Linked DNA regions of Homo sapiens: region 2 is linked to region 1. The links are contacts of gene promoters, found by promoter capture Hi-C in blood cells and fetal thymus (Javierre and others, 2016). All regions are on one chromosome and are shown on one strand. The core of a region is centred on a gene start or on the middle of the fragment in contact, and the rest is flanking DNA. Distances in the headings are between cores, read along the strand shown.

What was found. Contacts are between HindIII fragments. The CHiCAGO score rates a contact against its expected background, and 5 or more counts as called.
Region 2: a contact is called between a fragment that was not itself captured here and the fragment with the promoter of ZNF326 in region 1, in 2 of 17 cell types (erythroblasts and naive B cells). The highest score is 5.4, in erythroblasts.

What each region holds. Positions count from the first base shown.
Region 1 is chr1:89,991,036-89,997,758 of GRCh38, forward strand. ZNF326 (zinc finger protein 326) reads left to right here and starts at 4,075. Exons shown (of 12, transcript NM_182976.4): 1 at 4,075-4,238. The coding sequence starts at 4,223. It also overlaps the pseudogene GEMIN8P4. RefSeq lists enhancers at 3,727-4,293, 4,294-4,859, 4,741-4,790 and a silencer at 3,881-4,520. The HindIII fragment of the contact is 7,808 bases long and covers 1-5,375 here.
Region 2 is chr1:89,701,906-89,708,628 of GRCh38, forward strand. All of the region lies in intron 2 of LRRC8C (leucine rich repeat containing 8 VRAC subunit C), which reads left to right. Among named protein-coding and RNA genes, the nearest start is that of LRRC8C, 72 kb to the left of the region's middle. The HindIII fragment of the contact is 3,503 bases long and covers 1,337-4,839 here.

The DNA.
Region 1 (6,723 bases), core at 2,825-5,324:
ACGTGTGGCTCCACCAGCGGCAGCATCTCCTGGAAGTTTGTTAGAAATACAGACTGTCCAGTTCCACCCAAGACTGACTGAATGTGATTTTTGTCTTAACAAGTCCCTAGGTGAATCATTTGCATGCTAAATATTTGAGAAGTACTGACCCAGGGGGTGGGGTTGGGATCTGGGACTGATTCTTACAGGAAATAAATCCTGAGCTGTGTTTTGAAGATGAGTACGGTTAACCAGGTGGTGTTCCAAGCAGAGGAAACAACATAAGCAAAAGTTCAGTGGTATGAAAAAGCACAGGGGTGTTTTGGGAACCTGTCGCCTAAAATTGGTAATCAAAAGAGAGAGTGTGGGAGAGAGGAGGCAAGGGAAATGCAGAGAGATGACGCAGTTCAGGCAGTGGCCAGATCCTGCTGCATGTGTTCTAGGGTAAGGAGATTTGACTACACCTAATCCTTGACAGAGACGCATGATGACATGTTGAGATTTGCATTTAGATCACTGCAACCCTGAGGAGGCTGAAAGACAGAGAGATTAATTAGGAAGCTGAGGCAATAGTTTTGGAGAGAGATAATGAGAGTCTAAACTTAGGTTGTGGCAGTGGGGATGAAGAGGAGGGGGCAGGTTTAAGATATTTTAGGCACTAATAAACAGATGAAAGACTTCAGAATGGATTGGAGGTGGGAGGATGAGGGAGGGCTGAGTTTTGACTAGATGACTCGTAAGCTGGGATTAGTGTGTGGCTGTTCATGATGCCACTAACAGAGATGAAAGGATACAGGAGGACGAACAGGTTTGAAATTATGAGTTCAGTTTTCAAAATGTTCAGCTTAGGTGAATATAAAACATGTATAGATGGTCTCTGACTTACTATGGTTTGACTTTATAGCTGTGTGAAAGTGACGTGCATTTAGTAGAAACTATAATCCAATTTTGAATTTTGATCTTTTTGCAGGCTAGTGACATGAAGTAGGATACTCTTTTCCAAGGCTGGGCAGCGTCTCCCAGTCAGCGATGTAATCACAAGGGTAAACAACTGATATTCTACAATGTACTGTGCTGCCAGATGACTTTGCCCAACTGTAGGCTAATGTAAATGTTCTAAGCACATTTAAGGTAGGTTAGGTGAAGTTATGATGTTCAATAGGTTAGGCATATTAAATGCATTTTTGACTTGTGATATTTTCAGTTTATGAAGGGCTTATTGGGATGTAACCTCAAGTAAGTGGAGAAGTATCTGCATAGAAGGGAAAAAAGGAGGAAACAAGAAAAGGGTGGAGAACAGGGTGAATCAATCAGGATGGAGGAGGAAAAAATGCTCTGCCCATTTCCGGGGCAACAGTAATACACATAGTGTATCTGTGAGCTTTTCTTGTAGTTGTATTTCCAGAGGTTGCCTCCTTGAAACTTGGTTCCAGCAACTGGGTGGACCCTGAAAAAAGGTAAATAATTTGATTCATGGTTTCCTATCTGGTGATCAACTCATTGTTGCCACCGTTTGCTCTATGAAAAAAAAAAAGTTTTTTAATCTGTGGTTCAAACTGCTCCAATGTCAGTTTGTCTTTTTCCAGATTCCTGAATGTTTGAATAACTTTGTCCATGTCTCAAACACTGTTTCCAAAGTGGCAATAATACAATCCAGTATGTGTGTGTGTGTTTCTATAGGTCATCCTTCAAGCTCTGGATGACTCTTCTGCCACAAATCTTACCCATCTGTGAACTGTTACAGCTCTTTTATTTGCACCTTAAAATTCAGAACTGGATCATAGCCTGTCTCTAAAGTTATTTTTTCTAGACTTGACATTTTCTCAAGGAGTACAGGTTACTGAAACAGAAGAGAAATTAGTCCAATAACATCTCTTTTAAATGTCTTGAAAATAAACATTGGTGACAGTTTTGGTTCATTATCAAATCAGAACCCCTGAAGTGAAACCTGAGTATTGGCACTTACTAAAAGTGCCCTGGAGGATTCCAGAGTAGAGTCACAATCAAGAACCACTGACTTAAATGGCCAAGAGAGCCCCCCACCTCCGCATCACTAAGTATATCTTCAAAGAAAATGAAACATAATATTTGGCTAAAGAGAACTTTTAACAAACACTAATCATTAATAAATAATAAATCTTGTTTTAGGCCAAATATATATTTTACATTATGAAAGTGCTCAAGAATTTGGAGATATAGAAGAACACATAATCATGTGTATATAAAAAGTCATCACAAAAAGAATCATCGTTCATGTTTTAGAATTCTTTTTTTTTTTTCTAGGCAAGAACTTTAATGAATTGAACTGTTACTGACAACATAAAAAACCAGTATAATATATACAAAATTATCATTTTATGTCAGGATAAAATTTATCATGTTGGCAACAGAATATGTCCTGCCGACCTCCAAGTGGCTGGCACAGTACATCCACCCCGTGACAGGCCCACTGGGACTGTGGTGAACGTGCCTGTACCTCAGTACAAAGTCCCCTTTCCCTGAGAAATGTACAGAAGGAGAGATGAAGAGCGCGTATCCAAAAGGAAGAGGAAGAGGCTGGGTGCCCTGTGCCCCGAGCTCAGAACTTCGGGGGGATGACCGGCCAGTAATTAGGCTGCTTTGGATCACAGTGCTTGTCAAAGCTCAGCTGCACGTTAGCCTCCATGGCCTGGATCTTGGCGGCGCTGTCCCAGTACAAACGCTTCATTTCGGCCTGGCGCCGCTCACCAGGCCTCTCAGCTGGGGCCTCTACCGACCGGCGGGTGTTGCAGTACAGGTCGTGTTCAGCGTTCACGTAGCTGTTCAGGCGCTCCGCATCCAGCTGTTGCCGCCGCAGTAGTTCTTCTCTGTGCCTCTCTGTCTCTGCAAAGTACTGGCGGAGCTCTTCGGTGATTTCCATATTGCTCAGGTCACATGCTACCTCTGCATCTGACTCGGTCTCCATCTCTTCCTCCTTGGATAAGGCTTGGTCTTCTCTTGTGGATGCCTGGATCCTACTGCTGCCATGTGGATGTTGCCCAGACCCTCTGAAATGTGAAGAACTGCAGGGGGAGTCCTGCTAGGCCACATGATGGTCATAGAAGGACTGAGGATACGCAGCCTGGTTATCGTAAGAGCTTTGGGGAAGAAGCGCAGGAAGGAAGAACCATGGAAGACTGAAACAGGATTCCACCGCCTTCCTGTAGGCATTGTGGTGGCTTTGCATCCAAGCCATTGCTTGATGATAATGTTGCCAGTATCTTGCATATACTGGATGAGAATACCAAGGCCTGGTAGCTTTTGATGTTGATGCCTTCACCACTGCCATCTCCGATTGTGAAAGTCCAAATGGGTGCCGAAACTTGTGGGCGCGCAGCTTGCAGATCCTGGGCGGTGGCCAAGCAGGCCATGTTTTAGAATTCTTTCCAGGCGGGTCGCATTGGCTCACGCCTGTGATCCTAACACTTTGGGAGGCGGAGACGGGGCTGGGGGTGGGGGGATCGCTTGAGTCCAGGAGTTGGAGACCTGCTTGGGCAACATGGCAAAACCCCCATCTCTATAAAAATAATTTAAAAATTTTTTAAAAGAATTATTATTTCCATTTTATTTCAGTGCTTTGTCCTTTAAGAAAATTTATTGACATAGCGATAATCAGACTCCATACGCTATTTTGTATCTTGCTTTTCAAATTTGCCACAGGCTTCTAGAAACGTCCCAGACTTCTGTGTCTCCATGGAGGAAACCCCGTAAGTACTTACAAATGTTATGATTAGTCATCCCTAGCCAATACTAAGCAAAAGGTAGGCATGCGGTTTTATTAGTTTGGGCAGGAAGAAGGCATTCCAACCGGCTTCTTTCGCTCTTGCCAGGTTCAAACATGGCGGGCCGCAGCCGGCCCTTCCCGTACACTCGGCTTGCTTTCCCACAACCCCCGCCAATCTTTAGCGCTCCTTTTTTACCTTCCTTCCCCGTCAGCGGCTCCAGAGGGTCAGCACCTCCGAGCGTGACAGCGGACCTGCTTCCCGCCCCCCACGCGAGGGCCCGCCCACCAGCCCGCGTCAGCCAATAGCAGGCCGCGCCGATGGGGCTGGTAGCGCCGGTCGGCCCCGCCTCCCCAGCCTCGCTGTGGCCTGCGGCTCCCGGGCTGGTAGCGCGCCGCTCTCGGTCGCGCGGAGTGATCGTGTGGAATCGCGGGTCGCGGACGCTCGCCGCCGGCCATAGCTCAGCCTAGCGCCGCCAAGGCCGACGGCCCTCAGCCTCTGCCATGGACTTCGAGGACGGTAAGCGCTGCCTCTGGCTGGTCGGCGCAGCTGGCAGGAGGCGGGGTGGCCTACGCAGGGGGTCTGTTTACCGTCTCAAGATGGCCGTGTGGGCTTTGTTCTGCGGGCCCGGAGGCCGCCCGCCCGCCCCGGGCCCAGCGCCCGGAGTCGGCCTCTTTGGGGACCCACGCGCCCCGATTCGGCCCGCTCGGCGCCCGCTGCCGGCGGAGACAAGAGAACTCGGTGTCCGGTAGGACGCGCCTAGAGCGCGAGAGCCTCCGGGCTGGAGCCCCAGACTCGCCTTGGCCCCTGGTAGTGGAAATTGCCCCGACGTCTCCAACTTCCCGGTCTCGGGCAAACGGGCGAGTGCGGCCTCACCCACCTAGTCTCGCATTCGCCCCACAGGGCAGCGACCCAGACCGTCCGTTTAGTTAATCCTCAGCCTCGGGTTACTTCTTGCCAGATAGAATTTTCAGAGGCTTGTTCACAGTGATGTTTCTGTTTGTCCCGGTTTAAGATGAGTTGAAAGGGTGTCTGTAAGTGATATGTATAGATAAATATCTATGCAAAATGGAAAGCAAGATGTTTCCTGGTTAGTAAACTGGGGTGTTTATCACCAAAAATTACCTGCTTATTAATCCCTAACTTGAAATATTTATGTGAACCAAAGCACTTTTCTTTGGATCGTGTGTAGGTAGGATTTAAGTTAATCAGAATTTTGGCACAGCAAGCATCAAATGTCCTTCACATTTAGACCTGTACACAGCCTTGTAAGTGTTTGACTTACGGATTAAATAAACTGTATTTTAGCAATACTTTTCAGTTGTCTCAGATACTAATTCTTTAAACCACTTTTACAGGGTCACAAAGTAATATTAATTTGGTCTTCACTTTTGTTTTCAAACCTTGCTTGGAATTGGTGTCAAGATAAAGTGGTATGTAGTGACAACATTAGGGAGACATGGGAAAGGACTTATGTGATTAAACTGGATTTAATCCTGAGTAACCAGGCATGCTTAAGTAAAACCAGTTCACTAAGTAGGCTGTAAACTTTTAACCCCACCAAAAAAATGATCTTTAAATGAGGTGTGATCTCAGCATATGTCTTACTCGATGAGCTTTTGATTTTTCATAACATTTCATGCAACAAAGAATTAAAGCTTTCATATCTAGGTACAGATTTGTGAAAGGGGACTGGAATAGCCCTCTTGTAGATACTTTTCAGTTACTTTGAAATAGTAAGTTCAGCTCTTAAGAGTAGCACACTCTCGTGGTTTTGTTTGTTTTGGTTGGACTTTAACTCATTTTGATGTAGATACCTTTAAACTATGAATATTTGGGCTGGGCACGATGGCTCACACCTGTAATCTCAGCACTTTGGGAGGCGGAGGCAGAAGAATCCCTTGAACCCGGGAGGCGAAGGTTGCAGTGAGCCGAGATCGTGCCATTGCACTCTAGCCTGGGCAACAAGAGCCAAACTTCGTCTGAAAAAAAAAAAACAAAAAACCAACAACAAAACAAAAAACTATGAATATTTGAAGTGGCCAGAGTTGGGAGTGAAAATAAAAAATATATTATTGTATTTTCATGCTGTAGTTTGATGATAATGCCAACACCCAAGGTATAGCAGAGGCTAACAAAGTGGAGGTGGGGCAGTAGAAACAGTTCTTTCCACTCCCCACCCAAGGCAATAAGGGAATCCATTTCTATGGAGAATTGAAAAACAATAATAAAATGTAGTATGTCTGCTTTCTGTTATTGCCATATGCCAGAATTCTAAACAGTGTCAGTGATAGAAATTCTAAACAATATTAGTGATGAAATACGCCCTGTCTCACTGCCCAAATATACCACTGCTGTATTTGGAAGATGGAGTTTGACTAACACCATATATGAATCTATTCCTGTATAGTGTAGCAGGATTCTGTTGTATCCAGATGACCACTATATTAAATTCTGTTCTTTCAGTATATATTTGTAAAATTAACTAAAGAATTTAACAGTTGTTAAATTAGTTTTGATGAGGAAATTGGCAATATGGTTTTCAGTGATGACACATTCTGCTTGAATATAGAACACAGTCATATATGTATATGCATATGCATGTCTCAGATAAGATCTTGAAATCTTTTTTTTTTTGAGACAGAGTCTCGTTCTGTCGCCCAGGCTGGAGTGCAGTGGTGCAGTCTTGGCTCACTGCAGCCTCTGCCTCCTGGATTCAAGTGATTCTTCTGCCTCAGCCTCCCTAGTAGCTGGGACTACAGGCACGCACCACCAGGCCCGGCTAATTTTTATATTTCCAGTAGAGAAAGGGTTTCACCATATTGGACGGGCTGGTCTCGAACTCCTGACCTCGTGACCCGCCCACCTCACCTTCCCAAGTGCTGGGATTACAGGCGTGAGCCACCGTGCCCGGCCAAGATCTTGAAATCTTTAAAGAGCAAATTAAATGGTAAAAGAAATTAACTTAGCAAAAATTTCATGTTACGTACAATTCTCAGATGTC
Region 2 (6,723 bases), core at 1,838-4,337, 290 kb before region 1:
CAGGAGCTCAGCTCCTGCTAGTAAAGGGAACCATAAATGCACCAAGCAAGATAAGAGACTGGAGCCTGGTCACTGTTTCAAGCCAAAAGTCCTCACTCCCAAAAAGAAGCTGAAAAAATATAGCGATTAACTGGATGCTGGAGCCAGTACTTCAGAGGAAAGTGTGCATCTGAGGTGCCTGCCGACCAGAAACTGAGTCAGCCTGTCCACTGTCTTGCAGACTGACTCTGTGAGGCCTGACATCACAGTGGAACATCCAAATACCATGATAAGACCTATTGGTGGACTCTGGGGGGCTGGGGGCTGGGTGCAGAAAACCACAAAAGTACACTCAAGAGAAGCAGTGGAAAACATACACCTACTCAGGATGCGTCTACCACCCAGAACACATGAAAAAAACTATGTTAAGAAAGACTATTAACAAAATTAACAGTTGGAACACAGATTCATGCAAGATGAAATTAAGTTTTAACCAGATGACAATGAATTTAAAATAAATATACAGAGAGTGGTTAAAAAGATCAAGACATAACATTTAAAAAGTAGGGGCCGGGTACCGTGGTGAACACCTGTAATCCCTGCACTTTGGGAGGCCGAGGCAGGCGGATCACTTGAGCCCAGGAGTTCAAAACCAGCCTGGGCAACATGGCAAGACCCTATCTCTAAAAAAATAAAAATTAAAAAATAAAAAATAAATTTTTTTTTCATTAGCCAGGCATGGTGGCACACACCTGTAGTCCCAGCTACATGGCAGGCTGAGGTGGGAGGATCACTTGATCCCAGGATTTTTGAAGCTACTGTGAGCCATGATCATGCTACTGCACTCCAGCCTGGGCAACACAGCAAGACCCTGTCTCAATCAATCAATCAATAAAGTAGGTAGATATGACTTAAGAGCTGATATAACAAATTTAGAAATCTTGGAAATAAAGTCAATGAATTATAAAATATCAACAGATAGAATAACTGGACTGTACTCAGTAGCATAAAGAAGTAATGAATTAAACAAGAGTTCTCAGTTTACCCAGAGCCCAGCACAGAGAAAGACAGGAATCAAAACACACGCTCATGAAAGACAGACTGAGAGACACTGACATACATCTCAGAGGAGTTGTAGAAGAAAATGGAAGAAAGGATGGAGCAATATTTGAAGAAATATTTGCTTTAATTTCCCAAAATTAAAGAAAGTCAAGTCCTTAGCTCCAGATATGGAGTAGGATTAATCCACATACATTCAAAATTAAAGTGAACCTGCAGAAAATCCTGAGACTAAAGGTAAAATCTTAAAAGCTACCTTAAAGATAGATTGCGCACTAAATAACACAAACTGACAGCAAGCTTCTCATCAGAAAAAATATAAGCCAGGGAAAATGGAATAATATTTTTAAATGCTGAGAGGAAATTACTATCAAAACAGAATTGTATAACTTACCAAATAGTTACTGAAGAATGAAAGCAATATAGGAATTGTCAGTCTTACAGGATATATGAGTTTCCTATCCACAGACTTTTATTAAGAGTTATTAAGGTGTATACTTCAACCAAAAGGAAAATGAACCCAGGGAGAAGTTATAGGATCTAAGAAAACTAGTGACTCATAATTTAATAAATATATAAACAAACACAATCAAGTACAGATTGTAAAAAAAAAAAAAAAAGTTTCAAAAGAAAGCAAAAACAAACTCTGGGAACAACAAATTGGTATAGTTCAGTGGGTAGTTACAACATATTCTTGGAAGTGGTGTGGAGATACTAAAAATTTTAACTGTACATTTTAAGAAATTATAGATAACATCTAGAAGAACAGAAATACAGTCGCTATCTTCCTAACCAGCTGAGAAGGGGTTGGGTGGGAAATAGGAGATAGAGAAAAAATGAGCAGTGCAGCAGAAGGCAGGAAGGAGAAGGGAAAAGTATAAATGAAAATGAAAAATCTAGAAATAAGTCCAAATATCCAAATATGAGTGAGCAAAATAATGGATTAAGTTCACTTATAAAAAGAAAAGGGTGATTAGTTTGGATTTTTAAAAATTCAAAAGGCAGAAACCTAAAAAAATTATAAGAGTAAAAATAGAGATTAAAAGATAATATAACACAAATACCCAAAAAAGCTGGTAGCGTAATGTTAATATTAGATAGCATTTAGCCCTCCCATCTTCAAGAATACACTCTTTATCTAAACAAGGTATATATTTGAGTTTTCTAATATGCACAGGTTCTTGTAACCACCACTACAAACAGGATACAGAAGAATCTCAACACCCCAAAGAATTCCTGGTGCTGACCTTTGCAATGAACCCGCCAACCTCAGCCTTTAACCTCTGATCTGTTCTATGTCCTCATCTCTCTGTCCTATTTTTCAGAATGCCATGTAAAATCAGATAGTATGTAACCTTTTGAGACTAACACACTTTTTAGTAGCAAAACTCCCTACATGCATGTCATCATGGGAATGTCTTCAGTAAATTATAGCACATCCACAATATGTAATTCCATGGCACTTAGAATGAAGTAGATCTCCAGGTGCCAATCTATTAACATCTCCAAGACATACCATGAAAGAGAAAAACTCAAGGTGCAGGAACAATACATATAGTAAGATCTTATTTGTTTATGTATTATATACATGTAAATGCACAGATACAGATCTGGAATGGTATACACCAAACTTATCAGGGCTCATGAAGGAATGGCAATGGGGATAGGAAAAGGGAAAGGGAGGACTCTACCTTCTGTGTTAAAAATAAATGTTTTGCACATGAAAAAATGCTCACCATCACTGGCCATCAGAGAAATGCAAATCAAAACCACAATGAGATACCATCTCACACCAGTTAGAATGGCGATCATTAAAAAGTCAGGAAACAACAGGTACTGGAGAGGATGTGGAGAAACAGGAACACTTTTATGCTATTGGTGGGACTGTAAACTAGTTCAACCATTGTGGAAGTCAGTGTGGCGATTCCTCAGGGATCTAGAACTAGAAATACCATTTGACCCAACCATCCCATTACTGGGTATATACCCAAAGGACTATAAATCATGCTGCTATAAAGACACATGCACACGTATGTTTATTGTGGCACTATTCACAATAGCAAAGACTTGGAACCAACCCAAATGTCCAACAATGATAGACTGGATTAAGAAAATGTGGCACATATACACCATGGAATACTATGCAGCCATGAAAAATGATGAGTTCATGTCCTTTATAGGGACATGGATGAAATTGGAAATCATCATTCTCAGTAAACTATCACAAGAACAAAAAACCAAACACCGCATATTCTCACTCATAGGTGGGAATTGAACAGTGAGAACACATGGACACAGGAAGGGGAACATCACACTCTGGGGACTGTTGTGGGGTGGGGGGAGGGGGGAGGGATAGCATTGAGAGATATACCTAATACTAGATGACGAGTTAGTGGGTGCAGCGCACCAGCATGGCACATGTATACATATGTAACTAACCTGCACATTGTGCACATGTACCCTAAAACTTAAAGTATAATAATAATAATAAAGAAATTTAGGGATTAACCAAAAATAAAATAAAATAAAATAAAATAAATAAATAAATGTTTTGGCCGGGTGCAGTGGCTCATGCCTGTAATCCCAGCACTTTGGGAGACTGAGGTGGGTGGATCGTTTTGAGCACAGGAGTTCGAGACCAGCCTGGGCAACATGGTAAAACCCCATCTCTACAAAAAAATACAAAAATTAGCCAGGCATGGTGGTGCAGGCCCGTGGTCCCAGCCACTCAGGAGGCTGAGGCTGGAAAATTCTTTAACCCGGGAGGTGGAGGTTGCAGTGAGCCAAGATCACGCCACTGCACCCCAGCCTGGCAACAGAGCAAGACCCTGTCTCAAAAATAAATAAATAAATGGTTTTTTTAAAAGACAGATTTATGGTAGCAAAAAAATAAAATACATAGACAGACATAACTTAATAATGCACAAAATCTATGTGAGAAAACTGTAAAACACTCTTGAAAGGCACAAAATTAGATGCAAACAAGTGAAAACACACACCATAAGGAGGAAGAATCAACATCATGTCAGTTCTTAACTTATAAAGTGATCCCAATAAAAATACTACTAGGGTTGTTTTTCCTGTATCTACGTAATCTGATGATAAAGTTTATCGTGAAAGACAAGCACAAATTTGAGCACTTATCACACTAATTACTGATTTATATGTCTCATTCCTGTGCTTGACTTTGAAGGGCTTTTTGTTCTTGTTGGTATCCCAAATATAACAACTGACATATAGTAGATACTACTGCAGAATGACTTTTCCTGAGGCACACTCAGAATTCAGCATTTATGTTCTACATGTCTGGCATGTAATAGATAAGCTGCCTTCGTTTATATGTTCTTTGTTATTTCAGGCAGTTTCTCTGAAGCTAAGTGGTTTTATTTTGTTTTAACCTCAGCCCTTTGGTGTCTCATTCATGCAAATGTGGTACCTTTTCAACTAGTTATCACAGGTGGGTTCTGCTTTTTCACTTCCATACTTTTCTGGCAACTGCCTAAATAAGTGTCATCCTGATGTGTCTTAATGATTCTAACAAAGGACTAAGACTTAAATAACATACATCATACAAAAATGTAGCCATAAATATTATGACTTAAAATAGTGAAAATTTCTATTAAAAGGCCCGAATTTCACGTTGACCATTCAAGGTATTTCAGTATGCAATAGAGCATGCACATACTCCACTTACAGTGCATCTCTAAATCTGATTGTTACCATTTAAAACATTTGATTTCTCTTCCTAGATTCGAACAGCATTTTCAGGCAGGTTTGGATGGGTTGTTTCTTTTTTAAGGAAGCTTGAATTTTGGCCTATGCTTCCCTTGAAACCCTTCCCCTCCCCCATAGAAAGCAAAAGCAAGAAATTCAGCTTATTTCATTGACCTTAGAATTGAGGAAGGATCTTCAAGATCCTCTTTTATCTTTTCAAAAATAGCTGTTGTGTTTTCTCAACATGATGATTTGCAGATCAGAATTGAAGAATCCAAATTTTAGTGAATCCATTTAACCAATTATTGCAACCCTTGGGTTTCTTTTCCATAAGTACTGCATAGATATTATCACAGTTGTGGAACAAGTTTATGTGTACATTTTTTTCTCCAAGGACTTTAATTGGGAAGCCTTGAGGAGTATTTTATACTCCTGGATGTCAGTCGTTCCTAAAGATCCAGAGGATAGGCCAGGCGCTGTGGCTCATGCCTGTAATCCCAGCACTTTGGGAGGCCGAGGCGGGTGGATCACTTGAGGTCAGGAGTTCAAGACCAGCCTGGCCAATATAGTGAAACCGCATCTCTACTAAAAATACAAAAATTAGTCGGGTGTGGTGGCACACACCTGTAGTCCCAGCTACTTGGGAGGCTGAGGCAGAAGAATCACTTGAACCCGGGAGGCGGAGGTTGCAGTGAGCTGAGATTGCGCCACTGCACTCCAGCCTGGACAACAGAGCAAGACTCCATCTAAAAAAAACAAAAACAAAAAAACAGATCCAGAGGATATTGGGTCACACCCCAGTCTAATGCCCCCAGCAGGTTCCTGGAAGGATTAGGTTCCCATGGTCCCAGTTTCTGCTTCCATGGAAATCTTTAGATTACAGATTTTTACCTAGCCCAGGTAAACTCTGTACAGCTTTGATCCCAGCATGAAATTTGCTGTGATTTCTACAAAATGCATTCATAAAAGGTGTGGCTGGTGTGTGTGTGTGTGAGTGTGTGTGTGTGTGTGTGTGTGTAGCAGATTTTACTAAAGATTTGAGAAAGATTGAAAGGTATTTCTATCTCAAAATAGAAATAATGAGCATATACTCCAGCCACCTGCTGTATGGCTTGACCTAATTTTCTTCTTCCCTTCTAACCTGTCCGTGCTCTCCTGATTCACCTCCTCCTACTTCCAAGCCTGTTCACTCCAATGTAAAGTAGGCAGTTTAGCTGTCTCTTTGTACCTTGGCTTAATCTGACCCTTGCTCTCAGTGTCTCATTCTTCTGTGTCCCTCTCCTCCTCCTTCACTTAGACATTTTCCTTTCCATAAATGATTTCATTCTAAGAATTCTGAGAATTCTTATAGCAGCTTTTAGAATATTAACTTTTCTCACTTTTATGCATTTTGGATGAGGTTCTCTTGTTCATTTTGATTTTTTTCTTCACTTCTCCCCCCAGTTTCTTCCCCCTTTTTCTCTCCCTCTTCCTACATAAAGGCACCACGTAACTCCATTCTCAAGCCTTTTTCCTCCAAAGGCAGCTGAGAGTTGTCCTTGAAAGAAAATGGCGGAATTGCTCCATGTGATAATGTGTGTGGATGAGCTGCTGGTGATGCACTGAACCTCAAGGCTTTGTAGAAGGGGATGCGGTTGGGCACTTTCTCCCTGCCCCTACTCCAAGCACTCTGTCTTAGTCCTGTACCAACAGCCTGGAACCCTACAACTATTCTTTTGAGATTTGTTTTGCAGCCTTTCTTTAAGGCTTGTTTTGCACCCTGATCTTTACATTACTGGGTAAAGAAAAAGAAACGTGAAGTATAGGTCTGATTAGGCAGACTTCTCAAAAGGATAGGACAGATAAAACAAAAATTTCCTAATTCTCACAGGCTGCTGTTACAAAGATATGGCAAAAACACTGTTTAACCTTTTGAAGAAGAAGAAGAAGATGACGAAGAAGAAGACAAAGAAGAAGAAGCTGCCTGCCTTA